Linked DNA regions of Homo sapiens: all the other regions are linked to region 7. The links are contacts of gene promoters, found by promoter capture Hi-C in blood cells and fetal thymus (Javierre and others, 2016). All regions are on one chromosome and are shown on one strand. Each heading gives the region's core, a stretch centred on a gene start or on the middle of the fragment in contact. The rest is flanking DNA. Distances are from core to core; before and after follow the strand shown. Region 1 has its middle 4.9 kb from the start of ZYG11B. Region 2 overlaps ZYG11B (zyg-11 family member B, cell cycle regulator). Region 3 overlaps BTF3L4 (basic transcription factor 3 like 4). Region 4 has its middle 3.1 kb from the start of COA7. Region 5 has its middle 21 kb from the start of COA7. Region 6 overlaps TXNDC12 (thioredoxin domain containing 12). Region 7 holds the start of CC2D1B (coiled-coil and C2 domain containing 1B).

The links. The method cuts DNA at HindIII sites, captures the fragments that hold promoters and counts their contacts. A CHiCAGO score of 5 or more calls a contact.
Region 1: a contact is called between a fragment that was not itself captured here and the fragment with the promoter of CC2D1B in region 7, in 6 of 17 cell types (non-activated CD4 T cells, total CD8 T cells, total B cells and 3 more). The highest score is 6.7, in non-activated CD4 T cells.
Region 2: a fragment that was not itself captured here is called in contact with the fragment with the promoter of CC2D1B in region 7 in 5 of 17 cell types (naive CD4 T cells, naive CD8 T cells, naive B cells and 2 more); the score reaches 6.4 in naive CD4 T cells.
Region 3: a fragment that was not itself captured here is called in contact with the fragment with the promoter of CC2D1B in region 7 in 2 of 17 cell types (endothelial precursors and erythroblasts); the score reaches 5.4 in endothelial precursors.
Region 4: a fragment that was not itself captured here is called in contact with the fragment with the promoter of CC2D1B in region 7 in 9 of 17 cell types (fetal thymus, naive CD4 T cells, naive CD8 T cells and 6 more); the score reaches 9.6 in fetal thymus.
Region 5: a contact is called between a fragment that was not itself captured here and the fragment with the promoter of CC2D1B in region 7, in 12 of 17 cell types (endothelial precursors, M0 macrophages, naive CD4 T cells and 9 more). The highest score is 11.4, in endothelial precursors.
Region 6: a contact is called between a fragment that was not itself captured here and the fragment with the promoter of CC2D1B in region 7, in 1 of 17 cell types (fetal thymus). The highest score is 7.7, in fetal thymus.

The regions. Positions count from the first base shown.
Region 1 is chr1:52,720,219-52,722,918 of GRCh38, forward strand. No RefSeq gene overlaps it. Among named protein-coding and RNA genes, the nearest start is that of ZYG11B, 4.9 kb to the right of the region's middle. The HindIII fragment of the contact is 3,938 bases long and covers 1-2,700 here.
Region 2 is chr1:52,739,978-52,742,677 of GRCh38, forward strand. All of the region lies in intron 1 of ZYG11B (zyg-11 family member B, cell cycle regulator), which reads left to right. Among named protein-coding and RNA genes, the nearest start is that of ZYG11B, 15 kb to the left of the region's middle. The HindIII fragment of the contact is 1,738 bases long and covers 416-2,153 here.
Region 3 is chr1:52,069,616-52,072,315 of GRCh38, forward strand. The region is part of intron 3 of BTF3L4 (basic transcription factor 3 like 4); the gene reads left to right. Among named protein-coding and RNA genes, the nearest start is that of BTF3L4, 15 kb to the left of the region's middle. The HindIII fragment of the contact is 1,375 bases long and covers 639-2,013 here.
Region 4 is chr1:52,700,122-52,702,821 of GRCh38, forward strand. No RefSeq gene overlaps it. Among named protein-coding and RNA genes, the nearest start is that of COA7, 3.1 kb to the left of the region's middle. The HindIII fragment of the contact is 3,859 bases long and covers 1-2,700 here.
Region 5 is chr1:52,676,405-52,679,104 of GRCh38, forward strand. No RefSeq gene overlaps it. Among named protein-coding and RNA genes, the nearest start is that of COA7, 21 kb to the right of the region's middle. The HindIII fragment of the contact is 2,221 bases long and covers 149-2,369 here.
Region 6 is chr1:52,051,968-52,054,667 of GRCh38, forward strand. All of the region lies in intron 1 of TXNDC12 (thioredoxin domain containing 12), which reads right to left. It overlaps TXNDC12-AS1 (TXNDC12 antisense RNA 1), which reads left to right. Exons shown (of 3, transcript NR_126385.1): 3 at 440-716. Among named protein-coding and RNA genes, the nearest start is that of TXNDC12, 1.9 kb to the right of the region's middle. The HindIII fragment of the contact is 1,063 bases long and covers 777-1,839 here.
Region 7 is chr1:52,364,943-52,367,642 of GRCh38, forward strand. CC2D1B (coiled-coil and C2 domain containing 1B) reads right to left here and starts at 1,263. Exons shown (of 25, transcript NM_001330585.2): 1 at 1,127-1,263. RefSeq lists silencers at 863-972, 1,013-1,642. The HindIII fragment of the contact is 5,331 bases long and covers 1-1,859 here.

The DNA.
Region 1 (2,700 bases), core at 33-2,532, 360 kb after region 7:
TCAAAGAAATTCTAATTTGCCTTTATCTTATTATTATAAGTAAGAGTGAGCATTGAAGAGCCATTTCTATTTCTTTTTCTGTGAACTATCAGTTCACATCTTTTGTGCATTTTTCCCCTTGGGTTTTGTTCTTATTGATTTCAGCTCTGAATACAAATATAAACATTATTCATTTTCCTATATGAAATGCATACATATATACATATAGTCATTTGTTATCTGACTCTACTTATGGTGACTTTTGCCTTACATTTTTTATTTCTACATAGCTGAATTTATCAATCTTTTCTGTTATGGCATCTTGGTTTTGTTTTGTACTTATTTATTTATTTATTGAGACGGAGTTTCCCTCTTTTGCCCAGGCTGGAGTACAGCGGCGCAATCTTGGCTCACTGCAACCTCCGCCTCCCGGTTTCAAGGGATTCTCCTGCCTCAGCCTCTGGAGTAGCTGGGATTACCACCATGCCCGGCTAATTTTTGTATTTTTAGTAGAGACGGGGTTTTGCCATGTTGGCCAGGGTGGTCTCGAACTCCTGACCTCATGATGTGCCCACCTCAGCCTCCCAAAGTGCTGGGATTACAGGCATGAGCCACCGTGCCCAGCTCTTGTTTTGTACTTAAGAAGACCTTCCTTACTTTAAGATTCTAAAAAATTCTCCCATGATTCTTTCTTCCAGTATGTTATGGTTTCCTTCTTTCTTTTTTTTTTTCTTTTTTTTTTTTTTTTTTTTTGTGACGGAGTCTCGCTCTGTCGCCCAGGCCGGACTGCGGACTGCAGTGGCGCAATCTCGGCTCACTGCAAGCTCTGCTTCCCGGGTTCACGCCATTCTCCTGCCTCAGCCTCCCGAGTAGCTGGGACTACAGGCGCCCGCCACCGCGCCCGGCTAATTTTTTGTATTTTTAGTAGAGACGGGGTTTCACCTTGTTAGCCAGGATGGTCTCGATCTCCTGACCTCGTGATCCACCCGCCTCGGCCTCCCAAAGTGCTGGGATTACAGGCGTGAGCCACCGCGCCCGGCGCTTCTTTCTTTTTTACTTTTTTTTTTTTTTTTTTTTTTTTTGAGACAGAGTCTCGCTCTGTTGCCCAGGCTGAAGTGCAGTGGCGCGATCTCGGCTCACTGCAAGCTCCGCCTGCCGGGTTCACGCCATTCTCCTGCCTCAGCCTCCCGAGTAGCTGGGACTGCAGGCGTCCGCCACTGCGCCCGGCTAATTTTTTGTATTTTTAGTAGAGACGGGGTTTCACCGTGTTAGCCAGGATGGTCTCGATCTCCTGACCTCATGATCTGCCCACCTCGGCCTCCCAAAGTGCTGGGATTACAAGCGGGAGCCACTGTGCCCGGCTTTTTTTTTTTTTTTTTTTTTGAGACGGAGTCTCACTCGGTCATCCAGGCTGGAGTGCAGTGGCTCGATCTTGGCTCACTGCAATCTCTGCCACCCAGGTTCAAGCGATTCTCTTGTCTCAGCCACCGGAGTAGCTGGGATTACAGCCGTTGCCTGTAATTTTTGTAGTTTTAATAGAGACGGAGTTTCACCATCTAGGTCAGGCTGGTCTTGAACTCCTGACCTTGTGATCCACCTGCCTTGACCTCTCAAAGTGCTGGAAGCCACTGTGCCCGGCCTAATTTTGTATTTTTAGTAGAGATGGGGTTTCACCATCTTGGCCAGGGTGGTCTTGAACTCGACTTCAAGTGATCTGCCTGCCTGGGCCTCCCAAAGTGCTGGAATTACAGGCGTGAGCCACCATGCTCGTTCTTCTTTTTTACATTTTAATATTTGATATATTTGAAATTTGTCTTGGTGAATAGTGTGAAGTATAAATCCAAGTTAAAATTTTCTAGATGTCTATCCAGTTATTCTAACACCAAATACAATTCCAACTTTTGCTTTCTGACTTGAAATGCTACCTTCAGTATTATACTAAATTCCTAGGTAATTTGGATGTATTTTTGATCTGTTTGTGCTTCATTGATTGCAAATCAAGCAAATCAACTGTGACTCCATTCTTTCTTGATTGCAGAACTCTTATTTATTTATTTATTTTTGGAGATAGGGTCTTACTCTGTCACACAGGCTGGAGTGCAGTGGCGTGATGATGCCTCATAGCAGCCTCGACCTCCAGGGCTCAGGTGATCCTCCCACCTCAGTCTCTTGAGTAGCTGAAACTACCACCATGCCCAGCTACTTTTTGGTATTTTTTTGTAGAGATGGGATTTTGCCATTTTGCCCAGGCTGGTCTCAAACTTTTGGTCTCAAACCATCTGCCTGCCTTGGCCTCCCAAAGTGCTGGGATTACAAGTGTGAACCACCTTGGCTGGCTAGAACTCTAATTTTTTTTTCTTTCTTTTTTTTTTTTTTTTTTTTTGAGAAGGAGTCCCTCTCTGTCGCCCAGGCTGGAGTGCAATGGAGTGATCTTGGCTCACTGCAACTTCCGCCTGCCGGGTTCAAGCGAGTCTCCTGCCTCAGCTTCCTGAGTAGCTGGGACTACAGGTGCGCACCGCTACACCCAGCTAATTTCTTTTGTATTTTTAGTAGAGATGGAGTTTCACCATGTTGGCCGGGCTGGTCTTGATCTCCTAACCTCATGATCCACCCACCTCAGCCTCCTAAAATGCTGGGATTACAGGCCTGAGCCACCACACCCAGCCCAGAACTCTAATTTTTAATGACGATTTTCCTCCACTACAAGGAAGTCCTTAGGGA
Region 2 (2,700 bases), core at 35-2,534, 380 kb after region 7:
AGCTTCAATTTTTCAGATAAGGAAACTGAGAAGTTAATTGACTTTCCTAAGGTCACACAGCTAGTAAGTAGCAGAGCCAGAACTGACTGTGCAAGCCCAGTGTTCTTTCCATTATTAACCCCACTTCTCTGTTTACCTTATTATATTTCAAAACTCCTGGTTATTGTAGGTAACAGGAAAATAGTGCTAAAGTATCTCTTTGAGTGGACAATTCCTGTGATCTGCTCAATGGCCACTGACCTGAATTTTTGTTTTGTTTCCTAGAATAGCTTTATCACATGACGTTAGATGAAAGAGCAGGGCATTTATGTAGCTTTCCAGCTCTTGATCTTTTTTAGGTAGAACTCTACCTCCTTGCCCTTTAGCACATATCCACTTGCCATAGTGGCCAGGCCTTAAAGTGATATGTGCAAGAAGCTTGCTTTACTTGCTTTTCAATTTGTCATCTAGGAGTCTCCAAAGAGTAGTTGGTGTTCTTTTAAAAAGAAAAACAATTCCCCATAGTTTATACCAAATAGTTCAATATCTCCATACCCTTAAACACAATGTTATCTATTGTCTGTGATCTATGCCCTTGGTACTACCTTCTTTTTTTTTTTTTTTTTTTTGAGACAGGGTCTCTGTCACCCAGGCTGGGTGCAAGTGGCACCATCTCAGCTCACTGCGACCTCCGCCTCCGGGGTTCAAGCAATTCTCATGGCTGAGTCTCCTGAGTAGCTTGGATTACAGGCATGCGCCACCACCCTTAGCTAATTTTTTGTATTTTTAGTAGAAACGGGGTTTCACCATGTTGGCCAGGCTGGTCTCCAACTCTTGGCCTCAAGTGATCTGCTCACCTTGGCCTTCCAAAGTGCTGGGATTACAGGTGTGAGCCACTGCGCCCTGCTGGTACTACCTTCTTGACCTTCCTCTTTGTCTGTAAAATGATTGCAGTTGGGGCGGGGGAGGGTAAGGGATTAGATCATCTCTAAGGTTATAGTAGATGTTTATTTCTGGAAGCCTGACTTGGTTGAATTTGTAATAGAAAATAAAAGTTTTTGCTGGGCGGGGTGGCTCATGCCTGTAATCCCAGCACTTTGGGAGGCCGAGGCGGGTGGATCACCTGAGGCCAGGAGTTCGAGATCAGTCTGGCCAACATGGTGAAACCCCATCTCTACTAAAAATACAAAAAGTAGCCGGGTGTGGTGGCATGCACCTGTAATCCCAGCTACTCGAGAGGCTAAGGCAGGAGTATTGCTTGAATCCAAGAGGCAGAGGTTGCAGTGAGCCGAGATTGCACCATTGCACTCCAGCCTGGGGCAAAAGAGTGAGACTTCGTCTCAAAAAAAAAAAAAAAAAAAAAGAAAAGAAAAGAAAGTTTTTTAAAAACCCAAACAACTAAGAGGAGATTTTCCATGGAGTATTACGATGAGAAGTCAGAGATATCTAACATCTCAATTTCTCATAGGTACCTGTGAACTCAAATGATACTTGAGTGCCTTTCAGTTTCATTTTGGTTTCAAGGCTAGACTTGGGACTTAATATTTCTCTCTGGATACGTAGTCTTTTTCTCTAGAGGCAAATGTGTATTTTAGTTATGCTTAACAATAAATTCATGCTTGACTTTTCATTTATTCATGCAATAAACATTTAGTGCCCACTATGTAGTAGGCATTGTTTTAGGCTCTGAGAATACAGTAGAGAAGAAAATGCGGGGTTTTTTTCTATGCAGCTGATATTCTGTGGTAATAACATTTATTGAGCAGGTAGTATATGCCAGTTACTGTTCTTAGTGTGTTGCATTTAGAATTTATTTAATTCTGGCAACAATCCTATGACATAGGCACTGCTCTTGTCTTCATTTTACAATCATGAAACTGAGGTTCAGGGAGATTAAGTACTTTGCTTAAGGTTATATAGGTTTGTAAATGGTAGAGGTGGCATTTTAATCCAGGCAGTCTGACTCCCAAGCCCACACTCTTCATCATAGTATTACATAGTCTTTTAGAAAGATATCCATAAAAAATCTATTTCTATCATTAAATTGTCGAGTTTGTAATTTTTGTAGTCACCTGATTTCTGGCCCAATCTTTAGAAAAAAGTCACCCAAAGATACAATAAAGGAGCACTGTGAAAGCCCTTGTGTTCTGTTACAGGAATTGTCAGTCTTAGGAAGCTTTTGGGTAGGACATCTTGAGCCTGATTCTTATGAGTTGAGAGACCAGGCATGGTGACTCACGCCTATTACCCCAGCACTTTGGAGGCTGAGGCAGGAGGATCACTTGAGCCCAGGAGTTCAAACCTGAGCAACATAGTAAGACCCCGTCTCTACACAAAAACAAAAAATTAGCCAGACATGATGACACGTGCCTGTAGTCCCAGCTATTCGGATGGCTGAGGTGGGAGGATCTCTTGAGCCTGGGAAGTCGAGGCTGCAGTGAGTTGTGATTATGCTATTGTACTCCAGCCTGGGTGACAGAGCAAGACCCTGTCTCTAAAAAAAATAAAAGATAGAAAAAGAGATGTAAAAGAGAGAATTTTTTTTGTATTTTTTTACAGCTGTACAATGTGTTTATGTTTTGTTACTTCAAGAGTCAAAAAGTAGGCCAGGCGCGGTGGCTCACGCCTGTAATCCCAGCACTTTCGGAGGCGGAGGCGGGCGGATCACGAGGTCAGGAGATCGAGATCGTCCTGGCTAACATGGTGAAGCCTCGTCTCTAC
Region 3 (2,700 bases), core at 76-2,575, 300 kb before region 7:
TAAAAACTTTTGAGAAGAAAAGACACTTTTTGCCATTATTGTGAAACAATATGATAGTACTTTCTGTGCTTAGACCTTCAAAACATGAAAAAGTAGAAAGTGCTCAGTTTAGGGAGTGAGGAACAGGGAGAGCAGTAGTGGATCTCAAAATTCATTGAATGCACTTAGGCCAAGTAAAGTGTTTCTCCATACCCCTAATTTTCTACTGTCAGTACTGAATGTCACTAACATTAGTACTATCCAAGCTATCAGTATTTGTGATTTTTTTTCCCCCTTCCAGAGCTTAATTGGTGTCCTCTTCAGAAACTTTAAAAACTAAGGTTGGGTGCGGTGGCTCACTCCTGTAATCGTAGCACTTTGGGAGGCCAAAGCAGGTGGATCACCTGAGGTCAGGAGTTCAAGACCAGCCTGGCCAACATGGTACAACACTGTCTCTACTAAAAATACAGAAATTAGCTGAGTGTGGTGGTGCATGCCTGTAATCCTAGCTACTCAGGAGGCTGAGGTAGGAGAATCGCTTGAACCTGGGAAGCAGAGGTTGCAGTGAGCTGAAATCGTGCCATTGCACTCTAGCCTGGGCGACAGAGCAAGACTGTCTAAAAAAAAAAAAAAACTAAAAGACTATTTGGAATAAGACAAGCTTCTCTGACCTTCTTTGGTTCATTGATTTGGTATAATAGTTCATTGGTATAATAGTTCATTTGGTATAATAGTTCATTTGGTATAATAGTTCATTGATTTGGTATAATAAATTATATATAGGTTTGTTTGTTTGTTTTTAATGTTACCAAACAAAGAAAAATCCAAGGCTGTCAGAAACTAAAGGATAGGACTTCAGGAGGCTGAGGCAGGGGAATCGCTTGAACCCTGGAGGCAGAGGTTTCAGTGAGCCCAGATCATGCCACTGCACTCCAGCCTGGTGACAGAGCAAGACTCCATCTCAAAAAAAAAAAAAACAAAACTAAGGGATGAGGGGTTTCAGAGACAGTTTCATACAAAGGTCAAATAAATAACCAGCTTTTTTTTTTTTTTTTTGGTGGGGGGATGGTCTCACTGTGTTACTCAGGCTGGAGTGCAGTGGCACAGTCTTGGCTCACTGCAACCTACTGCCTCCTGGGTTCAAGCAATTCTCATGCCTCAGCCTCCTGAGTGGCTGGGATTATAGGCGCACCACCACATCTGGCTAATTTTTATATTTTTAGTAGAGACGGGGTTTCACCACATTGGCCAGGCTCGTCTCAAACTCCTGACCTCAGAAGTTCCACCTGCCTTGGCCTCCCAAAGTCCTGGGAGGATTACAGGTGTGAGCCACTGCGCCTGGCCAATAACCAGCTTTTTGAAAGGAATTCTTAGGCAGACTTACAGAGTATCATCCAGAACCAAATTTCTGAAAATGTTTTATGTTCTGTAACATTTGAAAATATTTGAATGTGCTTGTTATTTGGTAATCTAGTTGAATGTAGTGACTGTGCTGTCACCTTTTCTTCCCCAATTGCATGAATCCATTGACAAAAGGATCTGTTTTATTTCTCAGAAACAACAGATTTTTTCCAGTTTATTTGGTAAGAAGTGTAACCAAAAAGCACTTTCCGATTCAGATGCCCTAATTGTTCCAAGTTGCTTCATAGAGTTTTATAATAATATTCAGAGGACAGCTTCTGTCTTAATCAGGGTATAATTCAGCCTCCATGAAACCCTTCCTGTCTTTCCAGGTATAGTCAACCCTTTCTCTGTACTTTTACTGCTGTTAGCCTAAGTTGCTCTTCTATAATATGTTTTTCGCTATCTCATATCGTGGTGTATAATGGTAACTTATTAATCCAGTAGTCTGTTTTCAGTAGCTTATAAAGAGTCTTGACGGCTGGGAACATGTTTATTCGTTGTTTCTAGTTTATAGCATGCTGATTCTCTGTGATGAGTTTGCTTAGAACCTATTAAATTTAAGAGGTACTGATTATTCCAGGTGGGATTGTTCTGCAGTAAGTTAGCTATAGGGAGCTAGGGCTTAGAGAAAGCTTAAGGCTGGGAATATAAATTTTGTAATTGGACACATAAGTTTTACTTTTTACATTTTCCTCTTCCTGGTTCTTGTTTTTTCTGAACCAGTTGTACAGAAAGAGGACCTAAAGTTAATGGCGGGCTCTTCCTGCAGTTCCTTCTTCCTCCAGCTAGAGCCTCAGGTGCCCATAGATAGACAGCTCTGAGTACACGAGAGTAAAAGGGAAGCACCATGTCCTATTCACTTTACCATTCCATAGCATCCTTCTTTCTCTCTTAGGGTCCTGTTCTTTTGGCTTTTTGTTTTGTTTTTTACTCTGTGTGTGTGTGTGTGTGTGTGTGTGTGTGTGTGTGTGTGTGTAGATATATCTATATATATATCACAAAATTTGCCATTTTAGCCAGGGTTTTTTTTTGTTTTTTTTTTTTGGTTTTTTGTTTGTTTTTTGTTGTTGTTTTGAGGTGCAGTCTCGCTCTTTTGCCCAGGCTGGAGTGCAGTGGTGCGATCTCGGCTCACTGCAAGCTCCGCCTCCTGTGTTCACACCATTCTCCTGCCTCAGCCTCCCGAGTAGCTGGGACTACAGGCGCCCGCCACCACGCCTGGCTAATTTTTTGTATTTTTAGTAGAGATGGGGTTTCACCATGTTAGCCAGGATGGTCTTGATCTGCTGACCTCATGATCCGCCTGCCTTGGCCTCCCAA
Region 4 (2,700 bases), core at 151-2,650, 340 kb after region 7:
ATGTCTGAAATCCCAGTTTTATTTTTTAAATTCATAGGATTTTACATTCATTTCCCCATAATACATCTTTCATAGGATAACAGAAGATTGCCTTTTCTCCCCCAAGCCTTTGAGTAAAATTGACATTCCAGGCAATATACCACATTTACCTGTGGTTTCTTATACCCTGATCACCTTAGGGGACTCCTCAGTACACATGGCCCAGGATGGGAATCCTTGAACTTTGGTTTGAGGTCATCTTCTTTAGGATGGCCTTCAAGACCCTGTGCAATCTGATTCTAGCCTTATTTTCTGCCTCTCTTCCCCCACATCCCACCAACCTTCTGTTCTCTGAATAGATCCCAAGTTTGTGTCCCTGTTTACCTCTGCTCTTGATGCCTGGACCACCCTTTTTGACACAAATCGGAAATACTCTCCTATGTAAAGTCTTCCCAGACACAACAATTACACACATTCAAATTAGATTTAGATGCTCCCATTTTGGTGTTCCACACCACTTGGTTTATTCTGGTATAGTGTAGTAGGAAAGAAAGAACTGGCTTTGGAGTGGGGACAGATCTTAGTTCAGAATCCATGTTCCATGTTTATTAAATTGTAACCTTAAACCAATCATGTTTGTGAGTCTGAATCCTCTTCTGTAAATGCAGATCCATTTGTAATGGCTGTCAGAAGGACTACAAGTTCATGTATGCAATGTGCTTGGCAGAGCGCCTGGCTCAAAGTCATTCCTGTTCCAGGAATGTTTCTTGTCATGCCAATAATGGCATGAAAGTCTGTGTTCCCCACCAGACTGTGACCTCTGTGTCCTGTATGCTGGTCACAGGGCCAAGAATAGAATAGGGCTTGATGATAGAATAGAGCAGGGTGATGTCGATTACTAAAATCTGGGAATGTTTCCCTTTATTTTCTGAGTTGAACTGCATTGAAATGAGATCACCTGAGCGGTAGAGGGCACAAGAGAGTTAGTTGGTGATGAGAGGCTCAACCAAGTAAGAGGTCACTTTTTTTTGTTTTGCTCTTTCATCCAGGCTAGAGTGCAGTGGCGTGATTTTGGCTCACCGCAACCTCCGCCTTACGGTTTCAAGCAATTCTCCTGCCTCAGCCTCCTGAATAGCTGGGATTACAGGCGCCCACCACAATGCCCGCCTAATTTTTGTATTTTTAGTAGAGATGGGGTTTCACCATATCGGCCAGGCTGGTCTCGAACTCCTGACCTCGTGATCCGTTTGAACTAACTGTTGCCTCTGCCCTAGAGTGCTTTTCCCCTGTATTTTTTTTTTTTTTTTGGCTTGCCTTCTTAAGTTCTCTGCTTCAATTTGACATCGTCCATGTGGTCTTAGCTCATTCTTGTTATAATAACAGTGTCTTGATTGTGCCCAGCAATATTAGGTGCCCAAGTATTGTTGACTGAATTAAGAAGAGGGATTATCATTCCAAATAATTTGGTTTTCATTAATGGAACTTAGAATATCACTGACTCTTGCTCTTTTGACCCAGGTTTTTCTTAAAGCTATAAGAAACATTAAATGAAGGTCTAATTGACATACAGGAAACTGCACATAACTTTAAAGTAACAATTATGAGTTTCTACATATGTATACACCTGTAAACCATTATCACAATCAAGATAATGAGCATATTCATCACCTCAAAATTTCCTCATGTGACTTTGTACTTCATTCCCTCCCCAGCAACCATTAATCTGCTTTCTGTCACTGAAGATGGGTTGCATTTTGTAGGATATTATCTAAATAGAATGATACAGTAAGTACTGTTTCTTTTTGTATAGTTTCTTCGATTCAGCATAATTATTTTGAGATTCATCCATGTTACCACACGTATTAATAGTTCATTCTTTTTCTTAGTGAATGACATTTCATGATGTAGATATATCACAATTTGTTTATCCATTTGGGTTTCCAGTTTTTGGCTTACAAATAAAGCTGCTGTGAATATTTGTGTACGTGTCTTTGTATGGGCATTCATTTCCATTTTTGGGGTTCATACCTAGGAGTGGAATGGCTAGATCATATGGTAGGTATATATCTAACTTTAAGAAACACCCAAACTGTTTTCTAAAGTGATTCTACCATTACATTCTTACCAGCAGTGTTTGACAGTTCTAGTTGCCCTACATCCTCACCATAATTTGATGTGTGGTCAGTCTTTTAAAATTTTAGCCATTATAGTGAATATAACAGTATCTTATCATAGGTTTAGTTTGTATTTTTTTGAGTGACCAATAATGTTGGCATCTTTTCATGTGCTTATCTGCCATCTGTGTATCTTTGATGACATGTTTGTTAAAATCTTTCGCCCCCTTTTTATTGGATTGTTTTTTATTATTGCATTCTAAGAGTTATTTATATATTCAAGTCCGTTATCAGAAGTTTTGCATATATTTTCTCCCAGTTTGGCCTGCCTTTTTTGTTTTTATAACAGTGTCTTTCAAAACCAAAAGTTTTTCATTTTAATGGTGTGTCTAGTTTATTGATTTTTTTCCTCTTGTTAATAGTTTGTGCTTTTTCTTTCGTATTCAAGAAGTCTTTGCCAAACCCAAAGTCACTAAGATTTTATCCTATATTTTCTTGTAGAAATTTTATGGTTTAAATCTTATATTTAGAAAGCCTATGATCCATTTCAGATTAATTTTTGTATGAGGTATGAGATAACAGTTGAGGTTCACTTTATTGCATGTGG
Region 5 (2,700 bases), core at 9-2,508, 310 kb after region 7:
TGAGCCCCAATTTCCTCACCTGTAAAATGGGTTCCATACTTAGACCTCCCTTACAGGATGTTCCCCACTTCAGGAGGCGCCCTGCACACAGTGGGCAGTTAATGAATGTTGCTGTTATTACACCACCCCAGGGCAGCTTCAAGGTCAAAGCTTGATGCCACTGATGTCTGGAGTCCACTGGGGCCTCCTGGAACCTGATCGGACACCGTCATCTTGGGGAGAGTAGGGTCAGCTGCTATTCTTGGAGCTGATGGAACCCAGCCGGGTTTCAAGTTCCCTCAGGGAGCCCTGGCCCAGGCAGCTTGGCTGGTCATGTGAGCAGTGAAGTCTGACCTCAGCAAGTTCTCCTGGACTCTCCGCATGGCCCCAGCTGGAGGGAACTTGGGCACAGAGCGTGCTACAGGGAGTCCATGTCCTCCTGCAGCTGACCTTAGCCTTTTAGCTCCTGTTCATCAGCATCTACTTGGTACCCAAAAGGTCCTCGGGTGCTGTTTGAGGGTCTCCCTGAGACTGCAAAGTGTTTCCAACATCAGGATGTGAGGCAGCCTTGAGTCATATGAAGAGGGTTTAGGAGACAAGCAGGACTAAGTTCTAATCCCGGCTGCAATACTCATTGGTCTGTGAGTCTTTCTGTAAGCCACTTTGGCTGAGCCTCAGTTTATTTGAAAAACAGTGAGAATGAAAGTTTCCTGAGATGATTAGAGCATCTGGTACAAAGTAGTTGCTCAATAAATGATCAAAATTTAGACTGTAATTTCCTAAATGATAAAGACTCTGTCAAATCCAGCCCTGCATCCCCAGCGCCCAACCTAGGGCCACCCAGCCTAGAGGAAGCCCTCAGTGTTGACCATATGAATAATGAATTATGGAGGGCACTGAATGGAAATGCCTTATCTGGCTCCCATCTTTCAGGTTTTGCATACTCACTCCACCCAAATCTCATATAGAGTTAGTCCCCTCTGCATCAGCCCTGACAGGCGAGCATCTCCTCTCTTCTTGCATATCCCTGTAATAGGAAGTTCACCTCCTCCCAGAGCTTCTCATTCTGCCAAGTAGAAAATGCTTTCTTCCACTCAGATGTCGATGAACTGAGTTCTGTCTCCTAGCAGCTTCCATCCATTGGGCCTAGTTCTGCTCTCTGGAGCTGTACAGAACAAGCCTAGTTCTGCTTCCGAAAGATAGCCCTCCAGTGAGCTATTACACAATTTAGAATGTGCCAGGCATCGAGCCAGGCACTGCACTTACTTTATCTCATTAAACCCTTTAACCCTTACACTAACCCTGAAAAGTAAACATTATCCTTACTCTAGAGATGAGGAAAATGAGGCTCATAGAGGAAACATAACACATTTGCAGAGAAATTATTTAAATCCAGATTCTTTTCCAAAACGCTACCTTTTCAATGCTCAGTTGATCTACTGGAAGATAGCATTTGTCTCTGAGAGTTTCCCTTCCCTTCCCTTTCCTTCAATAAAGATTTATTATGTATCTCATCTGTACCAGATCCTGAGCTAGGCACAGGGAATAGAAATGAGACATAATCTATTAGGACATAATCTATTGGGACAGGCACTTAACAGCCTGTCCCAAACCATGTGAAAAGGACAGAGACAGGCTGGGCATAGTAGTGCCATCATTTTGGGAGGCTGAGGCAGGTGGATCGCTTGAGTTCAGAAGTTTGAGACCAACCTGGGCAACATAGTGAGAACTTGTCTCTGTTTTTAAAAAATCAAATTAAGCCTGGACGAAGTGGCTCACGCCTGTAATCCCAGCACTTTGGGGGGCCAAGGCAGATGGATCACTTGAGGCCAGGAGTTCGAGACCAGCCTGGCCAACAGGCCAACATGGCAAAAGCCCATCTCTACTAAAAATACAAAAATTAGGCAGGATGCCAGGTGCCTGTAATCCCACCTACTTGGGGGGCTGAGGCAGGAGAATCGCTTGAACTTGAGAGGCAGAGGTTGCAGTGAGCCGAGATCATGCCATTGCACTCTAGCCTGGGCAACAGAGTGAGACTCTGTCTCAAAAAAAAAACAAAAACAAAAAAACCCACTAAATTTTAAAAAAGGAAAGAAAGAACTGAGAGAAGCACAAGGACTATCAGAAGACCACGGAACTTGAGGGTCCAGGATGACTTCCTGGAGGAGGTGACATGTGGGCTAAGTTTTAAAGGACTATTAGGAATTGTAAAGAGCTGAAGGTGTGGAGACCAGACTGCAGAGGGGTTGTAGTGACAAGCTAAGGAGCTGCGGCTTTACACCACTTGAGTGGGCTGCCCATTTTAGTATGAATAAGAATTTCCCGTGGTTTTCTTATTTAAAATCCAGATTTTCATTCCGTAGGTCTTGGTGGACCCAGACATCAGCAAAAGCTTGGCTGTAAGAAACAGCCTGGGTATTTTGTTGTTACTTTTTCTTTTAAAATATTTAATGGATAAACAAAAAGTGTATATATTCAAGGTATACAGTGTGATGATTTGATATACATTGTGTACTGATTACTATAGTCAAATTAATGAACGCATCCATCACCACTTAATTTCTCTCTGTGTGTGTGTGTGTGTGTGTGAGAGAGAGAGAGAGATAGGGATATTTTGGGGGTGGGGCAGGTGGTGCAGAGACCACAAGCAGTTCCCTGATGCAAAGATGCCTGAGTTAGGAATAAGATGGGGCTAAATATGGAGGCAGGGATCATCTCATG
Region 6 (2,700 bases), core at 58-2,557, 310 kb before region 7:
TTATTATTTCCATGGGGGAAATAATACTGGTTAATGTTTATTAAATATTTTCTAAGTGTCCGACACAATATTAAGTGCCTTTTGTTTTTTGATTGAATCCTCCCAACCCAGCCCCACTGCCCTAAGCTGCCCTTCTATGTGCTCCTGCAGCTACCTGGTATTTCTCTGCTTAAAGCACATATCATGCTGCCATGTAACTGTCTGCTTACTTGTCTTGGTATCTTACCAGACTGCAAGCTGAAAAAGGACAGGAATCACAATTATCATGTTTATCATTCATTTCCTCTTTCAACAAATATTCCTGAGCATGAACAAGACAGAAATAGTCCTGGTTCACTGTGGCAGATATGCCCTTCTTACAATGTGACCTCAACATACCTCCCATTGGGGGTGAGGGTGGGGGTCCTAATATTCCATTCCCTTGAATCTGCCCCTACAGGGTACTGTGGAAGTGATGCTATGTGCCTTGTAAGGCTAGGTGACAAAAATGCCATGCATTTCCACCTTGTTCTCTTATGGCACGCACTCTTGGAATCCAGCCTCCCATAAAGCTACTGTGAGGAAACCCATAGGAGCCCATGCGGAAAGATCACATGGAGAGGTAACCAGCTTAGCCAAGGCCCCAGTCATCATAGAACAGGGACAAGCCTTTCCCAGTGTGCCTTGTTTGAATTCCTTACTCACACAATTGTGAGCATAATAAAATGATTTCTTCATGCCCACTAAATTTTGGAGTGATTTATTACACAACAATGGTAACTGGAACAACCACACAAAGCTTAATATCTAACAAGGAATAAAAATACAAAATACCTGATTCCAAGGTATTACCTACACCTAACACAGTAACTTGAACAGAGCAAATTATTTGTTGAGTGTCTGAGGTAGTTATGATGCCCATTTTGCAGATGAGGAACGGAGGCTTTGAGAGTTAAGAAACTTGCCCAAGGCTACTCAGCTAGTGAGTGGCAGAACAAATTAAAACTCAGATCTAGGCCTGGCGCAGTGGCTCCCGCCTATAATCCCAATACTTTGGGAGGCCAAGGAGGGAGGATTACCTGAGGTCAGGAGTTTGAGATCAGCCTGGCCAACATGGTGAAACTCCATCTCTACTAAAAATACAAAAAAATACAAAAAAAAAAAAAATTAGCTGGGCATAGTGGCACATGCCTGTAGTCCCAGCTACTTGGGAGGCTGAGGCAGGAGAATCATTTGAACCCGGGAGGCAGAAGTTGCAGTAAGCCGAGATTGCACCACTCCACTCCAGCCTGGCAGAGTGAGACTCCGTCTCAAAAACAAAAGCAAACAAACAAACAGAAAAAACAGCAAAGAAAAAACTCAGATCTAAACCCACGTACCCAACACTCTACTCTTCTGTTACTCTCAGTACTTACAACTTTAAATATACAGTAGCTGGCTGGGCGCAGTGGCTCATGCCTGTAATCCCAGCACTTTGGGAGGCCGAGGCGGGCAGATCATGAGGTCAGGAGTTTGAGACCAGCCTTGCCAACATAGTGAAACCCCGTCTCTACTAAAAATACAAAAAATTAGCCAGACGTGGTGGCAGGCACCTGTAATCCCAGCTACTCGGGAGGCTAAGGCAGGAGAATCGCTTGAACCCAGGAGGCGGAGGTTGCAGTGAGCCAAGATCATGCCACTGGACTCCAGCCCGAGCAACAGTGTGAGACTCTGTCTAAAAAACAAAACAAAACAACAACAAAAAAAAACGGTAGTCTGTTTTAAAATGGGATTGTCAGTATTTAAAACATTCTGGCCTAACAGGATTTGTCATGCAGTTTCATCACTGAGATGGAAACCCACATATCACCTTCTCCAAAAAGCTTCTCCTGACCTTCATAATTCAAGTGATGCCAGCTCCACCAACCTCCCCAGCCTTTCTACTTCCTATTCCATCACAGTCTTATTGTTTTCCCAGCACTTGTTCCTAGTTGAAACTGTCTTATTAATTTGTTCATGAGTCTACTCTGTCTCTCTGACATGAATATAAGCTCCACCAGAGTAGGAACCTTGTCTGTCCTGTTTACAGCTATATCCCTAGTGCCTAGGACAGTGCCTGAAATATAGGAGGTGATCAAAAATTATTTACGGAATGAAGGAATGATTGCATTCAGGCAAAATGAATGCCCACCCAATCTTATTACTCACCAATAGATGTGAAAATAGAGAGGATAAGAGAAAACAAAAACAGAAGGATTGCAGCAGAATCATTCCATACAGTAAGGTCAGTGAAAAAAAAAAAAGGAAGAGGGGTTGGGATCCATGCTACAATTCATCTACTTAGAAAAGCATAAACTCTGAGTTCACAGACTGTCAGTCCAACTTTCAACTAAGTAAGGGCTGATGAGGAGAGAGGTGTTAAAACTTAGAATGGAGATGTAGGTAATGGATGGAGTAGGGGGCCACACCTCCTAACCTCCATTCATAACCACTGATCGCTCACTTACAAAAAAACTTCGCTGAACCACAGCAAGGACAATTGTTGGGGACCCTTAAACAGCAGACCTTCTACCATTCGCTTGGCTCTTCTTATGCACTAGATACAGCTACCTGGGATGCAGGTGCTGTTTCCCAAAGGCAAGCAAGTGGCAGTAACCTAGCTCTTCGCGGAAGAAGTAACGAGAGAAATCTTCAGACCCAGAACAGGGTCCTCTGCATATGCAGGTCCCCAACGGCTCTATT
Region 7 (2,700 bases), core at 13-2,512:
ATGGAAGCCACAGCTGGCTATTTAATTTTAAATTTCAATGAATTAAAATGAAATAAAGCTAAAAATCCAGTCCATCAGCCACAACAGACACATTCCAAGTGCTTAACAGCCATATGTGGTGAGGGGCTATGACCAGACAGCACACACACAGAACATTTTCATCATCCAAGGACATGTCATCAAAGTTCCATCTCACAGCTGAGCTCTGGAGAAAGCTGGCTCAGCATTCTGATTCCCATAAAGATCTCACAGTTATTCACAGGACCTCCTGTGTCAGACCTTGCGCTGGGCACTGGGAGCGCAGAAATGAACCTAAGACGGTCTCAGCCTTCAATGACCATTTACAGGGTGGAGGTGGACTACACGGGGTTGCCCCAGGGGCCATGGGTGCCCTGAGGTGACCCCTTCTTCAGCCCTGGGAGAAAAGGCTCCTCCTTCGAGGCGGTGACGCCTGAGCTGAGTCACGCAAAGAAGTTGGGGGAAAGAGGGAAATAGGATTCCAAGACGAGGGAACACTTGACGGCTCTGAAGTGGGGAGCAGCTTGGCCTGTACAATGGAACCTGAGGCCTGGTATGACTGGGGCATAAGCGGTGAGGCCTGAATGCACAAGCCGAGGTGGAAATGTGAGCAAGCGGCAGAATATGAAAACCTCTAAGCCGAAAAGCGTTTGGGCATTATTCTGAGGGCGCTGGGAAAGAAGTGGCGGGATCGTATCGGTGTTTCAGAAACCCCATTCTGGCACCAAAGGGGAGGTGCACAGAAGGTAGGGGGAAAAGGCAGGAAGCCGGCGCATCTCGCCACAGCGCTGGCGGGGAGACCAGCTGACGGGCGTGGAGGCGGCGGGGAGCGGGCGGAGGAGCTGGCGGGCGCTCCGGGGGACTCTGAGTGTCAGATTTCGGGAGTGACTCCGGCTCAGGTGAAAGCGAGGCCAGACACTCCAAGGCTGCGGCCCCGATGACACAGCCAGGCCTCACGGAAGGTGGGCAACGGAGTCCGTAGGGGGAGGCGACACGGGACCCCCACTCCCGCGCTGCGGGACGCGCCGCCCTGCCCCGCCCGCGCCGCCTCCATCTACCCCCGCGGTCCCCAGAACTCCCCACGCCGAGGGGCGGGGACGCGGCATACCTCGCGGTGAATCCGAGCCAAACCCCGGCCTTGTCTCACCCGGCACCGCCCTGGGCTCCCGCGGGCCCTGGGCCGCAGCGGTAGCGACAGGAAGCGCCAGCAGGGGAGGTGGCTCGCGCGCAACACGTGACCCCACTGGCCGGCGGCCGGCAGTGCGCATGTGCACGGCTACGCGGGCGGGGGGCTCCAACAGGTGACACCGGGGCGGGGTTCGCAGCGCGCAGGCGCGTTCGGGTAGGTAGCGCAGGACAGGAACTCTGGGCGGTTCCGCCGGGGCGTCCACCGGCCGGCTCCAATGAGGTCGCTGCGCCCAGCCCTCGCCCACTTGCAGCCTCTCCACCGAACCTCCTCCCTCACTCAGCCCGAGGCGCTGGGCGCTCGCTCGCTCGCTGGACCTACCCCGCCTCCAGCCCTCGCCCCGCCCCACCGAGCAAGAGGGCGGGGCCTACCCAAGCTCCGCCCTGGAAGAGAGACAGGGGCGGGGCTCACCTGCTTGTCCATGTCCTTTAAGCCTGGGGAAATGGAAATGGGGCCCACCATATGTTTCTTAATAATTCAGCACCTGAAAGTATCCTTTTCCGGTCCGTTGAAAACTTCAGACAGGCAGAGCTCGCTGCACATCTTAAATACTTTACAGAGTCTAACACTAAGTTCTCACTCGCCTACCCTGCTGTGCAATCAAATGGCATGGAGGATATTAAGGAGAGAAACGGAGTATACCCGTTTTCTGCCAAGCTTGTGTCAGTCACTTTTCATAATGGAGCTTATACCAGTTCTCAATCCTGCAAGATGGACATCATCTCTAGAAGAAACGGAGGCTCAGAGAGAATTATTTGCCCAGGGAAATACAAAACCAACCTCTTTAGCATCAGTAAATATGCTCTAGTCTAGTTTTCTAAGGAAAGCACGTTTCTCCCTGCGGCTTGCAGAGTCCAGTTAACAAGAGATTGAGCTCAGGAGTCCGAGACCAGCCTGGGCAACATGGCGAAACCCTGTCTCTACAAAAAATTACAAATATTAGCCGGGTGTGGTGGTGCGTGCCTGTAGTCCTACCTACTGAGAGGCCGAGGCAGGAGAATCGCTGTGGCCCCGGAGGTCCAAGCTGCAATGAGCTGTCAACTGCACTCCAACCCGGGTGACAAGGTGAGACCCTGTCTCAAACTAAAACAAACAAAAAAACCGAGAGCGGAGTAATGGGGAAGTGGCCAGATTCCCATCTAAAGTAACCACTTCGATTTTGGGGGGAAAGAGAACGGCTTAAAAGGAAAATTTGATATGGGAAGCATGCAAGAATTGTACAGAGTACAACGTCTGTGTGTCTTGTTCTGGTGGCTATCTTGGGTCCCAGCCTACCTGGAGCGTGGGCTGGTCTCATCTCCACAATGGCCCCGCTGTTGACTAGCCACCTTGAAGTAATCTTTGGAATTTTGCAGCTGTGTCTCCAGGCTTGGTTTGTCTGTCTCAAGATTAGCCCTTGGAACTTCTCAGAAGGCAGATAATTAAATACTAGCATACAGTAAGATAAATGTGAAGGGAGTATATACAGTGAGAAAGGGAGGGATATGGGGTCTATT